Linked DNA regions of Homo sapiens: regions 2 and 3 are each linked to region 1. Evidence: promoter capture Hi-C in 16 types of primary human blood cells and fetal thymus (Javierre and others, 2016). All regions are on one chromosome and are shown on one strand. Each heading gives the region's core, a stretch centred on a gene start or on the middle of the fragment in contact. The rest is flanking DNA. Distances are from core to core; before and after follow the strand shown.

Region 1 (3,430 bases), core at 288-2,787:
TGCAGGATTGAAAGTTCCCTCCCTGTGGAAACCGTCAGGCTGGACTGCAGCCCATTCTAAGGAGGAGGTAGCTGGTAGGCGTGGCCCCGGACCTGCTTCAGCCTGCTTCAGCCGGCACCCCTTACAGTCTGTTCTCCCCACAGCAGCCAGAGGGAGTCTCTTGTACCTACACTAGCCCTGGTCCCTGCTCTGCGGGGGGAAGCCTCCCATGGCTCCCATCTCGGAGTAAAAGCTACAGTCCTCACTGTGGTCCACAAAGCCCTGCCTGGTCCTGCCCTTTCCTCATTTCATTCCGCTCGCCCGGCTGTGTTCAGCCACCCTGTCCTTCCCACAGGACCCGCCCACTCAACCCCGTTGGCTTTGCCCCCAGCACCCCCTGCCACCTGCAGGCCTCTGTCTGCTCCCCCATCCCAGAGCCAAGGCAGCCACTCTCAGGGAGGCTTTCCCTTGCCCCACCCTTCCAAGGAGCCTGTGTGGGTCTGGTCCCAGCCTGAGGTCACCCTCCCTCACCTCTTTCCTTTTATCCATCGCCTCTATCACCGTCTGAATTCACCTGTGGCCTTGGCTTGTTTCTCCCTGCTGGTCTTTCAACCCCAGGAGGCTAGAGTGGCACCGTTCTCCATGCCACATCTGGCACACTGCCTGGCACATAGTAGGTGCCTAATGGTAATAGCCCGTGGCTTTGCGGGCCCCCGTGTGCCAGGCAGTTCCTAGGTGCTTTGCCTGTATTGGCTCATATAAGGAGCAGATGGGCCGCGATTCCATTGACTTTGCCGAGGAGGAAGCTGAAGCCGGGAGGACCCGCCCCAGGCCTCAGCCAGCAATAAGATGAGCTGACCCTGGAACCCAGCTCCGCACTGAGTCAGCCTGGTTTTCCGCCTCCTAACAAAGGCACCAGGCATCAGGAAGGGGCGCCTTCATAAGGCGTCGCGGACACCTTGGTGTGTGTTAGGCAAAGCCTGCCCCTTCTTCCCGGGAGCGGGAGCGGGGCTTGGATTTCAGCCCATCCCCCCTTCTCACGCATCTTTGTGCTGTGAGCACCTGCCCCGGCCCACGTGGTGACCCGAGGAAGAAATGACCTTGTGAGGTTCAGTAAGCTGCTCAGGGTGTCAGCCAGGTGGCCTCAGCACCAGGCCTAGAAATGGTCCCGCTGGCGGGCACTTGCACACCTTTGCCTCTGGGATCCCCAGTCCAGCCCGTGCCCCCCTGCCACACTCACTTGTAGCCCACGTCGCACCAGCCCAGTGTCTTCATGTGGTAGTGCTGCACATTCCGGGCCTGCTGCTGGCACGAGGCGGGGGTGTTGCAGCTGCTGCCCGCCGTGTGCGATACCACCACATAGCGTAAGGGCAGGCTCAGGTGCTGGGCGCACTCTGATGCCAGGGCCTTCCACTCGTTCCGGGGCACTATGGGGCTGCAGCAGGCCGGGTCTTCTGTCTCCTGAGCCGCTCCGAGTCGAAGGAGGCTGGGGAGAGCCCAGGCAAGCAGCATAGAGCGGCGGGACATAGTGGCAGGGCGGCAGGGTCCGGGAGACCGCTAGGAGCGCCCGGTGGAGGGGCCGCCTTTATCTGCTGGGGGATTCCAGGAGTGGCCCGGAAAGTCTTGCTTCACACCCTGCTGGGACTTCCTGCTGGCCCAGCAGACCCCAGACTCAGCTTCCTTCTCTGGCTGGGCCAGGGCGGGATGCACTGTGGTTGGGGTCTGGGTCACGCCCACGGCAATGACAGGCCCCCTCGCTCAGCAGGGAGGGACGCACAGGCCCCTGGGCGCTTCGCCCCGCCGTTTCTGGAAGACCCGGGGCCGGGATCCCGGTCCTGCTTGTCTCTCCTCTCAGTGGAACATTGAACAACTCAACAGGAACTTACATCGCAGAGGCCCGGGGCATTGGCACATCTTCTCCCCGCAAGGACTGAGGTAACAAAGCTACCCATTTTAAAAACACTTCCTTCCCCCAGGTCCAAGCCTGATGCCATTTACGCTTGCAGCAAACTCAAGAGGTGAGTATCTGGAAGTCCATTTCACAGTGGAGTAAACTGAGGTTGAGAGCAGGGAAGTCACGGGCTGAGACACCGGAGGCACTGGAGCCCCGCGTCTAGAGCCAGGCTGCCTGCATGTGAATCCTGGATATGCAGTGTGTGAGAGCCTGCAAGTGGTTTTTAAAAATGTGTATTTAAAATTTTTTTTTTAATTTTCTATTTTATAAATAATATTTTCCTTTTTTTTTTTTTTTTTTTTTGAGATGGAGTTTTGCTCTTGTCACCCAGGCTGGAGTGCAATGGTGCGATCTTGGGCCACTGCAACCTCCGCCTCCTGGCTTCAAGTGATTCTCCTGCCTCAGCCTCCTGAGTAGCTGGGATTACAAGTGCACACCACCACGCCCAGCTAATTTTTATATTTTTGGTAGAGACGGGGTTTTGCCATGTTGGCCTGGCTGGTGTCGAACTCCTGACCTCAGGTGAGCCACCTGCCAGTGTTCCAGAGTGCTGGGATTACTATAGGCATGAGCCACCGTGCCTGACCTGTGTGGTGTGTTTTCATCTTCTGTGTTCTGCCTTCTCATATACATTGTACTCATGCTGTTACTGAATTGTGCACCAGGCATCTGTAGCACTTTTCAGAAATTATCATATACTCAACGACAAGCTTGCCAGATCCATGTTATTATTAACCCCTCTTACAGTTGACGGAACTGAGGCCCGGGGGGATGATCACATACAGGAGGTGATGAAGCCAGGGTTTGGCTACAGGCTTTCTGCCTGCAGAGTTATAAACCGTATTCTCCTCCCTACAAACTTATATAAGGACATTAAAAAAAAAAATCAAAACCATGTGCATCAATTTACCTTTTGTCACCTAATATTTCATGGGCATCTCACCAGGGCAGTACATCTAATTCTAATTTATTCTTTATAATAGTTGCACAATATGCTATAGTATCAGTTCAGCATTGTGGATCTTTTAGTTTTTGAAGGTTTTCCAGTATTTTCTCCACACTACGCAAAATATTTTCAGACATATATCCCTATGCACTGGTGCATTTATAAGTAAATTATAAACACAGAGTTATTAGGTCAATGAGTATACATATTTAATTAATATTACCAGATCATTTTCCCCAAAAAGCCATTAATAATTCATATTTTTCACCAGTAATGTTTTGGAGCCTCCTCACCCCGACCCCAGAAGTGGGTGTTATCACTTTTTTTTTTTTTTTTTTGAGTCAGAGTCTCGCTCTGTCACTCAGGCTGGAATGCAGTGGCACGATCTTGTCTCACTGTAAACCTCCACCTCCTGGGTTCAAGCCATTCTCCTGCCTCAGCCTCCCAGGTAGCTGGGATTACAGGCATGTGCCACCACACCTGGCTAATTTTTGTATTTGTAGTAGAGATGGGGTTTCGCCATGTTGGCCAAGCTGATCTCGAACTCCTGA
Region 2 (3,430 bases), core at 676-3,175, 230 kb after region 1:
AAAAAGAATAGAGCAATCAATTAACAATAAGAGGAGTCTAACAGATGCAAGTGATACCAACAGAGGCAGACAAGCCAGAAGCTTAACAGAAACATCAAGGAAAGGACAGTCAAAAAGAGGCCAGCTTATGCCATAACTATCTGGAGTAGTTAGAGAGACAGTGCGTATGCTTAGGGCTGCACCCTCTGGAGAGCACTAAGAAAGGTATAATTGTTCATATGTAATTATGTAATTATTACTTGTATGCATGTTATATAATTATTGCTTATATGTAATTGTGTAATTACTTATAAAAACAGCATAATCGCTTATTTCTTACCCTTTCTCCCCTTAACTGGTTTTAAAAGTCATGGCATGAAACAATATGTATGTAATTGTATTGCTGGGAAAAATAAAGAATCTGATTTTTAAATGGGCAAGAGGTCTGAATAGCCATGTATTAAAGGAAGACATACAAATAGTCAACGGATATATGAAAAAATGTTCAACAACACTTATCATCAGGGAAATGCAAATCAAAACCACACTGAGATGTCCCACTTCGGTTAAAATGGCTTTTATCAAAAAGACAAAGAATAACAGATGCTGGCAAGGATGCAGAGAAAGGGGAATGCTCATATACTGGAAATGCCCCTCCAGACCCAGACAGTAAAATTTACAAAACATTTAGAGAAGAATTAATACCAATCATTCACAAACTTTTCAAAAAAGTCAAACAGAACTTTCCAATTTACTCTGAGGTCTGTATTACCCTAACACCAAAATCAAAGATATCACAAGAAATTAAAAAGAAAAAACTACAGACCAACATCTCTTATGAATATAAATTCAAAAATCCTCAACAAAATATAGCAAACCAAATCCAGCAGCATATATAAAGAATGATATATCAGCCGGGCACAGTGGCTCACACCTGTAATCCCAGCACTTTGGGAGGCCAAGGTGGGTGGATCACGGGGTCGGGAGATCGAGACCATCCTGGCTAACATGGTGAAACCTCGTCTCTACTAAAAATACAAAAAATTAGCCCGGCATGGTGGCACGCTCCTGTAGTCCCAGCTACTTGGGAGGCTGAGGCAGGAGAATTGCTTGAACCCGGGAGGTGGAGATTGCAGTGAGCCAAGATCGTACCACTGCACTCCAGTCTGGGTGACAGAGCGAGACTCCGAAAAAAAAAAAAAAAAAAAAACAATGATACATCATGACCAAGTGGGATTTATCCCGGGGATGCAGTTGGTTCAACATAAGAAAATCAATCAATATAATATACCATATTACTAGACTATAGAGGAAGTCACGTAATTCTCTCAAATGATATTGAAAGAGCATTTGACAAAATCTACACTCTTTCATGATAAAGTACAAAGAACAAACTAGGAACAGAAGAGAGCTTCCTCAACCTGTTAAAGAGCATCTACAATAAACTCATAGCTAACATCATACTTAATTGTGAAAGATTGAATGCTCTCCCCCTAACATCAGGAACAGGATAAGTATATTCACTCTTACCACTCTATTCAACATAGCTCTGGAGGTTCAAGCCAGGAAAGTTAGGCAAGAAGAGAAAATGCATTCAGATTGAGCAAGATGAAGTAAAATGGTTTCTATTTGCAAATGACATGATCTTGTATGTTAAAAATCCTTAGGGCCAGGTACTGTAGCTCATGCCTGTAATCCCAGCATTTTGGGAGGCCAAGTGGGGAGAATCACTTGAGGCCAGGAGTTTCAAGCCACCCTGGTCAACACAATGAAACCCTGTCTCTACAAAAACAAAAAATAAACAAAATTAAAAAATTATAAGTACCTGAGGTGATAGATAGCGTAATTAACTGGATTTAATCATTCAACAAGTTAAGCCTACATTAAATCATCACATTTTACCCAATGTGAATAAACAATTATTCTTTGTCAATTTCCTAAAAAAATTCCTAGCAGAAAACGTGGAAGTAAATCTTGATGACCTCAAGTTAGGTAATATTTTCTTAGATATTACACCAAAAACACAAGAGACAAAAGGAAGAATAGACCTCATCAAAAATTAAAAACCTATGCACTGCAAGCATCAAGGAAATGAAGACAATCCACATAATGAGAGAAGTGTTTGCAAATCATGTATTTGATAAGGGATGAGTATCCAGAATATATTTTAAAACTCTTACAACTATATAATAATAAAATAAGCAACCCAATTAAAACATGGAAAAAATCTGAATAAACTTTTTTCAAAAAGGAATACAAATGGCCAATAAGCACATGGAAAAGATATTCAGCGTCATTATTCATTAAGGAAATGCAAATTAAAACTACACAGGATATCATACGCACCCACCCAGATGACTGTAATAAACAGGAAAATAGAAAATAACAAAGGTTGAAGAATCTGGAGAGAAATGTGAGCCCTCATACACTGCTGATGGGAATGTAATTGATGCGGCTCTGTGGAAAACAGTTTGCCAATTCCTCAAAAACTTAAACAGAATTACCATGTGGCGCAGCAATTCCACTCCTACATGTACACCCCAAAATAATTGAAAACAGGTTCTCAAGCAAATACATGTATATGTATGTTCATAACAGCACTATTCACAACAGCCCAAGTGTCCATCAACAGATGAATGGATAAATGAATGCTGATACATGGATACAATTGAATTTATTCAGTTATAAAAAGGAATGAAATACTAATAAATTCTACAATGGGGATACAATTGTAGAAATTGTAACAATGAAAACAATAAACAAAGTAAAAAAAAAGAAGGTGACACAAAAGTTCACATATGGTGTGATTCCATTTATATGAAATGTCCCAGATAGGTAAATCCATACAGATGGAAAGCCGACTGGTAGTTGCCAAGGGTGAGGGTAGAGGGGAAGGGGAGGAACAGCTAAGTAGGCATACAGTGGTCGGGGGCTGTGGAGCCAGGTGACTCGGAGCTAAAAAGCAATTCTGGAAGATGACTGAGCTACTCTTCTTTCAACTTGAGAGAGGAAGAGAAGGAAGGAGAGGAGGGAAAAGACAGGGAGGGGAAGAGAGGAGAGTGGGGCAGTGGAGGGGGAGAGAGAGAGAGAGAGAGATTGATGGTTGCGCAAAAAGAAGCTAGTGAACACAGCAGGCATTGCTCACCTTGATGGAATACACACAACAAAACTCTGTCCACCGCCTGGGCTGCCCTTACTTGAGCACACTCCTGGGGTAGTCAGGCCTCACTCCTGGGACATGGAGCCTCACTACTGCCTGGTGCTGAGAGCCCAGGGGCTCCAGTCAGCAGTGCTGGAAGCAGGGCCAGAAGTGCAGTTAGGACCACAGAGCTGGGTCTTGTTCAAGGACAGGATGATCCCCTTATTACAGCCCCAAGAGATTGCAGATCTGGTCTCCACTCTGGAGTGTCAACTGGCACAACCACAGTCCAATATCTGGAAGAGTCAGAGC
Region 3 (3,430 bases), core at 253-2,752, 190 kb after region 1:
TGGCTCTTCTGTGGGGAAATCACACACCCGACCCTCTGAAAAAGCACGTTAAGGAAAAATGTCCTTGAAAATCTCAGGAGGGCTGTGGAATTTCTCCACCACCAGAACTTCACAGTGACAATGACACCAAACACAAGAACGACAATAACCAAAATCAGGAGTTTTATTCTCCTACCTTCTCTCTCTCTCTCTCTCTCTCTCCTCTCACTGTCATGAACGTCACGAAGACACTGACTTTGCATTTTCTACTCAGCACTGCATCACCAGTGTCTGACACAAAGCCTGGGACATGTGGGCTTCCAAGTGGACCTCTCCTGGATAAATGACCATTAATGAAACAGAGAAGGAGTTGAAGAGCCCCCAGAGGAGTGTGAGTCCCAGGGGTCCCGCCAGCTCCACTCCCACCTTCCAAACCTGTGAAAGTCAGGTGCCTGAGTCGCACAGTCTCTCCCACCCGAATGCCATGAGCTGCAGGTGAGTGAGCAGTTACTGCATCCTGGGCCATGGGCTTGGGTTGTGAAGTTAGGACCTGATTAGAGGATGTCAGGGGTTAGCAATGTACCAAGGAAAGTGGAGAAAGTCATAGCTCAATGGGATCCTGTGGAATCACTGTGTGGCTGTGTGAGTGGGGGAGGGCGGTAACTATAGGAGCATGCTGCACCTTCCTGTTTGCCAAAGAGGGGGCATGTAGGACACAGAAGCGGAGGGTGCACCACTTCTCCCTGGGTTCTCAAAGTGTCTGAGATCAAATCTACTATGACACATACCCTGCCTGGCTCCTTTACTGCCCAGCGACCCAGCCTGTCTCTGCAGGAGGGCCAGACATGCCGTGACATCACCAGCTCCTCTAGGAATATGGGATACAAGGAGTGGCTGAGATCGGCTGATCACCAGCTCACTCCGCTGCAGCCGCCCCAGAGCAATGGCTCCCCGAAGCCGTGTTCTGGGTAAGGAGGGGAGGACCCCATTCCCAACCGAACCCATCTCCCATCTCAGCCACCACCAGGGCTCGCTCCCCACCCCAAACTCCCTGTTCCCTCATTCTTGTTCCCATGCCCAGCCAAATCTCCAGGCGTGAATTGCTCACAGCAATTCCCCATCCACAGCGCCCGGGTCAGCCCCATCCACAGCCCTGTTTCAGTTTCTGAACTGCCCAAAGCCATACCGAGCCCTGGTTCCACCCAATCTTCTTCTAAATGTCAGTGCCAGTCGTATCTGTGGCTGTCCACTCACCCCATCTTCCCCTTCCCTCTCCCACAGCTGTCTTGGCCGCTTTCTGTTTGTGACTCTCCCTGCCTCCACTCCCCCCACCACCCCATGAAATGATCTCATTTGGTCATTTAAACGGAAAACTAAAAAGTTTTAAGTGACTCTAGGAGAGCAGGAGAGAGGCAGGTCTCCCAGCTCAGACCCCGCCCCGGGACGGCCCCACGGAAGATGCACATCTGGATGTAGGCGCTCAAGGCACCGCGCGTGCGCCGAGTGGCCTTGCTCAGCTCCGTCCTTCTGAAACCCGGAATCCTCATGTGTCTGGGTCCCGCCCCATCCTGGCCTCCTACACCACTGGTCCAGATCCTCCACCTTCCCCCAACGCGAGGTATTGACATCAAAGCATCACCTCATCTGGCACAAGAATCTGAAACACAGACCGCACCTTACACCAACGTAGTGAATCCCTCCTTGGACCTGAGTTCAACAAGCCCAGAGTCGGGGCTCTGGGTTCCCGCCCAAATGCCACGCATGCACACAGATGGCACCTGGCGTCTCCTCAAAGGGACAGGAATCCCGGGCTTCCCAGAATCACCAGGTCGATTTAAATGGCATCAGATGAACTGGAAAAGAATGAAAGTGCTATTGCCTAAAGTGATGAAATTTTCAGAGGATGTATCGGTCCTGTCTGGTGGACAGACGGCCACCAGAGGGAATGAACCAGTCTTCTCTGAACATCCATGAGGATGAAGAACAGTCACTGAGGTGACGGTACCAAGTCACCGGCCACCTCCCAGGGATCCTCTCATCCGGTCCTCACAGCAGCGCTGCATGGTCGGACCTCATCACCCACATTCCACCAAGAGGAAGCTGAAGCCCAGGGCCTTCATCCACTCATGTCCTCCAGACCCCTGGCACCCATCCTGGGCCCCACCCCATCATCCAGGCCTTGGGCCTTCGACCTGGGGAGAGTCCCTGTCTCCTCCATGAGCCGTCCAGGGCCTGAAGAGGTATCCAATAAACAAGAAAGCAGAACACAAAGAGCTGTGATGGAGTGGATCTTATGTAGTAAGAATAAAATTATTTTGAGAAATTACTGGGTCATGTATTTACCCACAGAAAAACAGAAGCAAACACACGCGTGCGCGCACACACACACACACACACCACACAGGCTGTCACGTGTCCTCAGCACAAAGTGCCTTGAGAAAGGCCATTGCTGGCCCCACACTTATCCTGACTGTGATCTTGCTGTGATCAGCACATCCCATCAGTGTGGCAACAGGTGTGGCCAGAGTGGGAACCAGGCCTTTTCTTCAGATTTGCTCTTTGTTCCTGAATAGCCACCGTCAGAACAGACACCCTCCTAGGAGTCACTTGATTAAAAATTTCCTTTTGGATATTTAGGTTGATGTTTTATCCATCGGTTAAAGTATAAATGTATATTTATTATAAAAGTGTAATTATGGCTCTAATTAATGATTATGGTGAATTTTACTAACTATAGCTATGAAAATATTCCAATAGATAAAAACAGTGCTAAAAATGTACAGTTAATCCAAGAGTGGTAACTTTAAGTCTTGTAATTTTTGATCTAATAAATCTTCATAAAATATACATGATCATGAAGTACATCAGTAGAATTAATCCTAATATTTACAGCAATACTTGGCGTGCTGTCTCTCATAAAAAATAACATTAATAGTAAAAAAAAAAAGAAGAAATCGGCCAGGCACGGTGGCTCACGCCTGTAATACCAGAACTTTGGGAGGCCGAGGCAGGCAGATCACAAGGTCAGGACATCGAGACCATCCTGGCTAACACGGCAAAACCCCGTCTCTACTAAAAATACAAAAAATTAGCCCAGCGTGGTGGCGGGTGCCTGTAGTCCCAGCTACTCGGGAGGCTGAGGCAGGAGAATGGCATGAACCCAGGAGGCAGAGCTTGCAGTGAGCCGAGATCACGCCACTGCACTCCAGCCTGGGTGACAGAGCGAGACTCCATCTCAAAAAAATAAAAAAATAAAATAGTAATAAAGAAATGATGAAATTTAAAAATTCTATTTAATTTTGGGTTGTTTAATTTTCATTTGGGGCATGACTATGTGAAGTAATAAATTTTGTTTGGGCATTAATATGGGATGACCTATGTCTCCCCCTAAATTCATGTGTTGAGGTCCTAACCCCAGTATCTCAGAATATAACTGTATTTGGAGATAAGG

What was found. The method cuts DNA at HindIII sites, captures the fragments that hold promoters and counts their contacts. A CHiCAGO score of 5 or more calls a contact.
Region 2: a contact is called between a fragment that was not itself captured here and the fragment with the promoter of PGLYRP1 in region 1, in 1 of 17 cell types (endothelial precursors). The highest score is 5.0, in endothelial precursors.
Region 3: a fragment that was not itself captured here is called in contact with the fragment with the promoter of PGLYRP1 in region 1 in 1 of 17 cell types (M2 macrophages); the score reaches 5.3 in M2 macrophages.

Annotation. Positions count from the first base shown.
Region 1 is chr19:46,021,516-46,024,945 of GRCh38, forward strand. It overlaps PGLYRP1 (peptidoglycan recognition protein 1), which reads right to left and starts at 1,538. Exons shown (of 3, transcript NM_005091.3): 1 at 1,220-1,538. The coding sequence starts at 1,506. RefSeq lists an enhancer at 146-1,031. The HindIII fragment of the contact is 5,413 bases long and covers 1-2,641 here.
Region 2 is chr19:46,246,198-46,249,627 of GRCh38, forward strand. The region is part of intron 1 of LOC124904728 (a long non-coding RNA gene); the gene reads right to left. Among named protein-coding and RNA genes, the nearest start is that of IGFL1, 18 kb to the left of the region's middle. The HindIII fragment of the contact is 3,692 bases long and covers 80-3,430 here.
Region 3 is chr19:46,212,537-46,215,966 of GRCh38, forward strand. LOC93429 (a long non-coding RNA gene) reads left to right here. Exons shown (of 6, transcript NR_027003.1): 4 at 254-474; 5 at 793-947; 6 at 1,261-2,302. It also overlaps a transcript of IGFL2 not described here. Among named protein-coding and RNA genes, the nearest start is that of IGFL2-AS1, 11 kb to the left of the region's middle. The HindIII fragment of the contact is 6,207 bases long and covers 1-3,430 here.